Regions from separate parts of the Homo sapiens genome. Here regions 1 and 2 are each linked to region 3. The links are contacts of gene promoters, found by promoter capture Hi-C in blood cells and fetal thymus (Javierre and others, 2016). All regions are on one chromosome and are shown on one strand. The core of a region is centred on a gene start or on the middle of the fragment in contact, and the rest is flanking DNA. Distances in the headings are between cores, read along the strand shown. Region 1 holds the start of RND1 (Rho family GTPase 1). Region 2 overlaps TMBIM6 (transmembrane BAX inhibitor motif containing 6). Region 3 holds the start of TUBA1C (tubulin alpha 1c).

Region 1 (2,752 bases), core at 172-2,671, 400 kb before region 3:
GCGTGCATGTTGGGTGGTAGGGAATGGAAATGGAGAAGTCCTGTTTTACTGCCCACCCCCAGGACTATTCATGGGTCCCTTCACCTCACCATCCCAGCCCTCTAAAGGGTGGAACCAGACCCAGGGAAGAGAGTGGCTCCTGGGGTTCACCCACTCTGCACCCTTGGACCATGCAACTGAGTCCACCAACTGTCAGCCCTCCCCACAACTAATGAGTCTTCAGATCCTCTTTTTTCACTTCTCCCCACCAAAGGGGAAAACAATTTCTAAAAGACAGCAGCTACACAGCAGACCAGTAGGGGTGGGAAAGGGGTATTTGGAGCAGAATTCTTACCTGAGGTATCCCAGAGACTAAGCTCCACCCTCTGTTCCTCTGTCTCCAAACAGGCTGTGTAATTTTCGAACACGGTGGGCACATAGGTCTGTGAAAAGAGAGGAAACATTCACCCCATGCACCCCTACCCTCAGATCCCCTGGTTAGTGCTGGCTACACACGCACTCACCAGAGAGACAGTAAAGTCACAGGAGACAAGAAACCAGAGGAGATGCCTGGGGCAGGAGGGAAGGGACTGTGGAGGACCAGGCACTTTGCTCTGCAGCAGTGAGAAATGTGAATGACACCCCCCCACACCACCACACCAGGGGTAAGCCCCCCATATCCTAGGCGATCAGGGACACACACACACACAGATTCCTCCCATCCCCAGATTTGTGTTTCCCAATTTGAGAGAGCCACAGGCCAAAGCCAATCCTAGCTCATCTCCTCTCAAACCCCTCCCGGCCAGGTGAACAGAGGGGCTGCAGAAGCCTGCCTGAAGGCACAGGCATAGAGCCTTTGAGGAGCAGGTGAGCGGATAGGCAGGGATTACGTCAAGAAGAAACCCCAGACTTTCAAATGCCTCCAGTGCCCTCACCTGAGAGCAGACTCCAGGGACGCAGGAAGGTGGAGGGGATCTGATGGGTCCTCTGGGTGAAGAGGTGAGGAGGAGCCAGCGGGGCGGCAGAAGTGGAACAGGTCTCAGGGGAAGCTAAGGCAGGGCAGTCCTCCAGCCAAAAAGCAGCTGAGGATGGTAAAGCCTCAGAAAGCGGCTGAGGATGGGCTGGGGCTGGGGGAGCCACGTCTCCTGAGCAGGTGGAAATCTACCCCAAGGCGGGCAGGCAGGGAGAAAAGCCGGCCAGCGGGCGGGCGGGCAGCTCACCTCTGGATAGCAATCCTTCGCTAACACTTGCAACATCGCGGTCTTCCCACACTGCACGTCCCCGACCAGAACGAGCTTACATCTGGCCACGACTGGCTGGGGGGCCCGTCTCTCCTTCATGGTTGCAGTGTCCGCGGGACTTGAACTTCGATTCAGAAGGGAGGGTTGCGCCAGGTGCGTCTCAGCACGCCAATCAAGCCAGATTCCCTGCCTCCCTCCAACTGAGGAGGAGGCCGGCACAGCCGCCTTTTATTTTTCTGGCTGAGCCAATCACAAGAGGAGGCGGACTCTGTTACGCCCAATCCCTGAGGTGGGATTCCCTCCAGCAGCCAATGGATCTGAGGATCTGAGTCAGCGCCCCCTTCCTCCCTTCTCTTTCTCTTAAAGCTGCACCGTTGTTTCCCCCTGAAAGGGGATTCCCAGGTTGTTTTGCATTTGTATTAGGAAGTGGAAAGGGTACTGGAAGCAAAATGAAATGATCTGGAGTGTCTACCAATAAGTGTCAGAAAAACAAACTAGCTATGGAAGCAGGAAGTGAGGTCAGGCTGGAGTTGCAGGGACTGTCCCGGGTGGGTTACAAAAGCAGGACCTGCTTAGACTATAGACAGGTGTGTGTGTGTGTGTGTGTTTTGGAGGAGTAGGGGATGGGGGAGGTGGCCCAGAACTTCTCTGACATTTTTTTTCTTTTTTTTCCTTACATCTTTTGTTTTAAATAGAGACAGGGGTCTCACCATGTTATCCAGGCTGGTCTTGAACTTCTGGGCTCAAGCAATCCGCCTGTCTCAGCCTCCCAAAGTGCTGGGACTACAGACATGAGCCACAGCGCCTGGCCTGATGTCTGACTTTTTTGTTTTTTCTAATTCCCATCCAAACCAGTTCTTACTTCCCTTTATTTCCCCTCCCAATATCAGCTCCTGCTGTACCTCTTTTATTTATTTATTTATTTATTTATTTATTTATTTATTTATTTATTTATTTATTTTGAGATGGAGTTTCGCTCTTGTTGCCCAGGCTGGAGTGCAATGGCACGATCTCAGCTCACTGCAACCTCCATCTCCCGGATTCAAGCGATTCTCCTGCCTCAGCCTCCCGAGTAGCTGGGATTACAGGCATGCACCACCATGCCCAGCTAATGTTGTATTTTTAGTAGAGACGGGGTTTCTCCATGTTGGTCAGGCTGGTCTCGAACTCCCGACCTCAGGCGATCCGCCCGCCTTGGCCTCCCAAAGTGCTGGGATTATAGGCGTCAGCCACCGTGCCCGGCCTGTGCCCCTTTTAAAGCCTTCTCTTCTTCAAGAATCACCTTCACCACCAAAGACAGAGAGAGAGAAAGAGAAAGAGAAAACTTTCTAGAGTCATCCATAAAAAAAACACACAGCACCTGACCCAGTGATGGGCAGAGAGAAATGAGGGACTCTGGCAAGTGGGGGTGGGAGAGAGGAAGAAGACAAAGCAAACACAGTCACTGTTTGGCCAGACAGCCTCTCACCCATGCCTAGCAGAAGCTGCTTAGGGGTGTTTGTTCTGCGGCCTAGGCTCAGCTTCCTGGATGA
Region 2 (2,719 bases), core at 45-2,544, 480 kb after region 3:
CCAGCTAATTTTTGTATTTTTTGTGGAGATGGGGTATCACCATGTTGCCCAGGCTTACCAACTCCAGAACTCAAGCGATTTATTTATTTATTATTATTATTATGTTTTTTTTTTGAGACAGTCTCACTCCCTTACCCAAGCTGGAGTGCAGTGGTGCAATCTCGGCTCACTGCAACCTCCGCCTCCCTGGTGCATTCAATTCTCATGCCTCAGCCTCCTAAGCAGCTGAGATGACAGGCGCGCACCACCATGCCCAGCTAATTTTTGTATTTTTAGTAGAGACGGGCTTTTGCCAAGTTGTCCAGCCTGGTCTCGAACTCCACACCTCAAGCGATTCGCCCGCCTTGACCTCCCAAATTGCTAGGATTACAGGTGTAATCCTTTCCTAAAGAAAAAGAGTCATCTCTCCTGAAGAATAAGAAAAGGTAAAATTAATCTAGATACTTAGCATTTTCAAGTTATTTTCCCTGATTATAGATATAGTTCGCGCTCTTTATACAAATGCTGAAAATGCAGAAAAATGTCATAGGAATCAATGTATGTTTTGGGAGGGTTTTTTTGTTTTAAAGATTTGTTTTCACCTATGGCTGAAACTTTTGAAAGCTTATATAAATGAAAGCTTATTTTTCTACTGTAGGATGGAATAGTAAAAAGAGCACTAGACTATAGTGGTCAGAAGACCCCAAATCTGGTTCTGGCTCTGCTATTTAACTTTCTAATGTTGGTCAAATCAATACTAATGTTTGTTTTAGTACTTTACGTTGATTTCACACAGATTTTCTTATTGGCATTCAGTAGAGCAGGTATTGATCATCATCGTTATCTTACAGATGAGGAAGCTGAAATAACCTTAGGTAAAATGATTTTTCCTAGGTTATATAGTAGAAAGTGGCAGCACTTGTGACACCAAATCCTGTCCTCTTGCCACTATTACATTGCCTTTTTGAACTTAAAAAAGATGTATAAAATGGGCCTAATCTTTCCCTTTCCTTGTGGGTTGATGTGTGAGGATTGAAGGTGATACATATATAAAAGCACCTTAAAAGTTATAAATTTTATATAAATATAGTCAGGAGTATTAGTATAGAAGGTACTACTGCTGGCCTGACGAGTTTCATTTTATTTCGTAAACTGCCCAAGGGTATTAATTTTCTCTAGAGAAACCATTGAATATTCTGATGCTCTAACTTCTGATTTTTTTTCCTTTACTACTTTGACCTGGTTGTAGAATCTGGTAGAAATGTCTTCTACCACTCTGTTTTGTTCCCCCAGAGTTTCTAACCAAACTGCATGCAGCCCTTCGTAGTTTTTATACACATTTTGTTTTCCAAAGATGGTGTTCGAGACCAAGGAGAGAAAGGCTGTCTCCTTGACTTAAAGGTTACCTAAGTGACCCCTTGAGGTAGGTTCCACTCTGAGCCAGCTGGGGAATGTTGATTTGAGGTTACAGCACTCTTGATCTGATAATAGGGTCTAAATTTGCTCTAGAGACTTTGTAGTGCTTAAATCTTGGGGATAGCTGAGCTGAACCAGATGCAAGCTCTGCCCTCAGGGTGAGAAGTTTCTGCACAATTAACTGGAATCCAAAACACGTGAAAAAGGAGCTTCACCAGTGAGGGTGAAGTGGGTATGCTGTTTGTCTTAATTTATGTGTGCTCCCCATTTGGGCTAAATATGGTGTTATTAGGGAGGGATTACTGGTTTATACTGGAAGAAGATTATGTATTTAGGATTTTGGGGCCTTCTTAGGATTCAGTATCTGTCAAACGTTATAGAGAGGGAGATGAAGTAGTGTCAACGTTTGGTACAAAAAATAATTTACTGAAGGCAGTAGGCATTTCATCTCCAGTTACTGGTTTGGTTTTGAGGCAGCCCCCTGGAGGAGATGGATTCAGTATTAGCTAATCCAGGGATTTGGGTCCAAGTTAAGGGAGAGGCGGGGACATCTAGGGTGTCCACCTGGGAAGATCAAAGCTTGGTCCTAGTTGAATGAAACAATTCCTTGGATGGTTCCGAAACTGAACTGACCTACCTCCTGGGAGTGGCAGGGAAAGCATCAAGCTTTTGCGCATTTACTTCATCAAATCCTTTACCATATCAGATTATCACTTAGTGGCTATTAGGCTGTCTCAAAATGTCCATGGCCCTGTGGGACAAGAGAGATAGTATAAATGTGCTAGAAGAAAGGTATGCCATTTAAACAAAAGTACAGACGGGCCCCAATTTATGATGATTGGACTTAATGATTTTTTACTTTATAATGATGCAAAAGTGCTACCTGTTTGCTAGAAACTGTACTTCAGGCCAGGCATGGTGGCTCATGCCTGTAATCCCAGCACTTTGGGAGGCCGAGGTGGGCAGATCACTTGAGGTCAGGAGTTTGAGACCAGCCTGGCCAACATGGCAAAACCCTGTATCTACTTAAAATACAAAAATTAGCTGGGCATGGTGGCACACACCTGTAATCCCAGCTACTTGGGAGGCTGAGGCATGATAATCACTTGAACCCAGGAGGCAGAGGTTGCAGTGAGCTGAGATCGTGCCACTGCACTCCAGCCTGGGCAACAGAGCGAGACTCTGTCTCAAAAAAAAAAACCCAGCACATTTAGAATTTCCATCTTTTCCCAGACTAGGGATATCTGGTATGATATTTTCACATGAGATATTTAACACTTTATTATAAAGTAGGCTTTGCGTTAGATAGTTTTGCCCAACTTCA
Region 3 (2,780 bases), core at 249-2,748:
TCCCAAAGTGCTGGACTTACAGGCATGAGCCACCGTGCCCGGCCAGAAAATTCACTTTTGTTCCCTCAATATTTCCATAAACTCTGTATCTCCCAGAGATGGTCAAGGAATTCATGAGCTAAGATAACATGATAGAGTTGCAGAGAAACAAAAACAACAGAAATAAAAGGCGCTTCTGAGAAACCTTGGCAGAGATGGTCAGAGAGGCACATTTAGTATGACGCAGTACAAGTTAGTGTTGAAGGGTTTAATTCCTCGGAGCTCTACTTTCCTCATCTGTAAACTAGGGATAATAATTCATAGAGTTTGTCATATGGATGAAATGTGATCATGTGATATGAAAAGCCAACTACTCGGCCAGGCGCGGTGGCTCACGCCTGTATTCCCAGCACTTTGGGAGGCCGAGGCGGGCGGATCACGAGGTCAAGAGATCGAGACCATCCTAGCTAACACTGTGAAACCCCGTCTCTACTAAAAATACAAAAATTTAGCCAGGTGTGGTGGCACGCGCCTGTAGTCTCGGCTACTCAGGAGGCTGAGGCAGGAGAATCGCTTGAACCCGGGAGGCAGAGGTTGCAGTGAGCTGAGATCGCGCCACTGCACTCCAGCCTGGGTGACAGAACGAGACTCCGTCTCAAAAAAAAAAAAAAAGCCAACTACTCTGCATAGTTAGCAATCAAAAAATGTAAGCTATTCATTATCCTAATGAACTGAAAAAACTGCTTTTGCGCCTATCGGGAGGAGACTGTTAGAAGCCAAAGGCTCATTTAAAGAGGACGTAAGGAAAAGCAACCAAAAAGGTGGGAATAGAGTTTAAGGCGCGTTCGTGGTGATTCAGACCTAGAGTGGGGAGCAAGCCCTCTCTCTGGACAGCCCTCAGCGGCGAGGGGAGCGGGCGCCCGCGGGCCCAGCCGGGGTGCCCGGCAGCCAGGACTCCGAGGCGGAACCCGCAGCCTGGTCCCGGCGTCGGCGCCTCCCCGGCGGCGTAGGGAGCGCAGCCGCGGGGACCGGGGGCGAGGCCGGGGCGGTGCAGTAAGGGCTTCCCTCCTGGGCGCGGTCGCCCTCTTACCTGGAGCTTCCCCTCGCTGGGGTTTTGCCCACCTGACGCCCCCGCACCCACCGGGGACGGGGCAGACGTCCGGCCTGCTCCCTCCTCCCAGTGGACACCTCTGTCCCTGTCCCGGCCCATTCTCCAGCCCCAGAGCCCTTCCTGCCCTTCCTCCCCTTCCTCCCCTTCCTCCCCTTCCTCCCCTTCCTCCCCTTCCTCCCCTTCCTCCCCTTCCTCCTCTTCCTGCTCCTGGCTCCTTCCGACGAGTTTGGTTTGAACTTTTGAATCCGCCAATCAGCGCCGCGCGCCCCCACTCCGCGGGTGCGGCCGGGCGCAGGCCAGGGCTCGAAGGTGGGGCCGCAGCGGCACGGGGCGGGGTCTGGGGCCCGCCCTCCCGACACGTGGCCGGGGACCGGGTATATAAGGCCCTTCGGGGCCGGCCACCCTTTCACTACTTCTCCCCCGGACTCCTTGGTAGTCTGTTAGTGGGAGATCCTTGTTGCCGTCCCTTCGCCTCCTTCACCGCCGCAGACCCCTTCAAGTTCTAGTCATGGTGAGTGGGGTTCCCTCGGGGCTGGGGAAGAGTGCGCGTCCCAGGGGACGGCGGGCCCGGAAACTACTGCCTGCACCTCGGGCCGCGCCCAGGACAGCTCCAGACTACCCCGGGCCCCTCCGGTTAACCTGGCTTGTGGCGGCCGGGCTGGAAGGTCGAGTTCACTTGGCAGACACCAGTTCGGGCCGGAAAACCTGGCCCGGGTGCGGCCATCAGTGGAAATGGAAAGCCCTCTTGATCCTAGTGAGGGCTTTCCCCGCAGGGCCCGCTACTGCCCTAGGGAGGAAGGTCAGGGAGCCTGCTCATTGGCCTCCAAGAACTTAAACTAAAAATCCCTCCCCACGTTTTCTCAAGCGACCTCTCCTTCCTACTGCCTTACAAACTGGGCCCCGGAGGCCCTCGTGCGCTCCCGCACCGACGGTGCAGCACTTCCTGGCTCCCCCTCTCCAGCGCCCAGTGACTCGCTGCTGAGTCACCTGTGGCCCTGCCCTGGGGAGAGCTTCCAACTGCGCCAGTCCACTTGAGAATGGAGGCAGGCACCTCCTTGGAAGGGAATAATTAACTTTCACGTTGCCTAATCCTGCATTTCTGGTGTTAATCTAGTGGTAGGTTTATAGCTGAAGCTTTCTACTTAAGCCGGGTTTAAAAACACGTCCACAAAAGGATATTTTCTTATAAAACCAGAGTTGGCCCGGCGCAGTGGCTCACGCCTGTAATCCCAGCACTTGTTCGAGACAAACCTGGCGAACATGGTGAAACCCCGTCTCTACTTTAAAAAAAAAAAAAAACAAAAAAAAACGCTGGGCGTGGTGGCGCGCGCCGGTAATCCCAGCTACTCGGGAGGCTGAGGCAGGAAAATCGCTTGAACCCAGGAGGCGTAGGTTTCCCTGAGCCGAGATCGCGCTACTGCACTCCAGTCTGGACGACAGAGCGAAACTGTCTCAAAAAAACGCAAACCCGGCCCGGCGCGGTGGCTCACGCCTGTAATCCCAGCACTTTGGGAGGCTGAGGCTGGTGGATCACGAGATCAGGAAATCGAGACCATCCTGGCTAACACGGTGAAACCCCGTCTCTACTAAAAAAAAAAAAAAAAAAATTAGCTGGGCGTGGTGGCAGGCGCTTGTAGTCTCAGCTACTCGGGAGGCTGAGGCAGGAGAATGGCGTGAACCCGGGAGGCGG

The links. The method cuts DNA at HindIII sites, captures the fragments that hold promoters and counts their contacts. A CHiCAGO score of 5 or more calls a contact.
Region 1: the fragment with the promoter of RND1 here is called in contact with the fragment with the promoter of TUBA1C in region 3 in 1 of 17 cell types (non-activated CD4 T cells); the score reaches 7.4 in non-activated CD4 T cells.
Region 2: a contact is called between a fragment that was not itself captured here and the fragment with the promoter of TUBA1C in region 3, in 2 of 17 cell types (total CD8 T cells and fetal thymus). The highest score is 6.5, in total CD8 T cells.

What each region holds. Positions count from the first base shown.
Region 1 is chr12:48,864,449-48,867,200 of GRCh38, forward strand. It overlaps RND1 (Rho family GTPase 1), which reads right to left and starts at 1,422. Exons shown (of 5, transcript NM_014470.4): 1 at 1,200-1,422; 2 at 335-422. The coding sequence starts at 1,319. RefSeq lists enhancers at 1,236-1,355, 1,616-1,745. The HindIII fragment of the contact is 16,374 bases long and covers 1-2,752 here.
Region 2 is chr12:49,743,141-49,745,859 of GRCh38, forward strand. The region is part of intron 1 of TMBIM6 (transmembrane BAX inhibitor motif containing 6); the gene reads left to right. Among named protein-coding and RNA genes, the nearest start is that of TMBIM6, 2.9 kb to the left of the region's middle. The HindIII fragment of the contact is 1,355 bases long and covers 618-1,972 here.
Region 3 is chr12:49,263,584-49,266,363 of GRCh38, forward strand. TUBA1C (tubulin alpha 1c) reads left to right here and starts at 1,499. Exons shown (of 4, transcript NM_032704.5): 1 at 1,499-1,601. The coding sequence starts at 1,599. RefSeq lists silencers at 821-1,260, 1,301-1,560, 1,915-2,128 and an enhancer at 1,691-1,850. The HindIII fragment of the contact is 8,287 bases long and covers 1-2,222 here.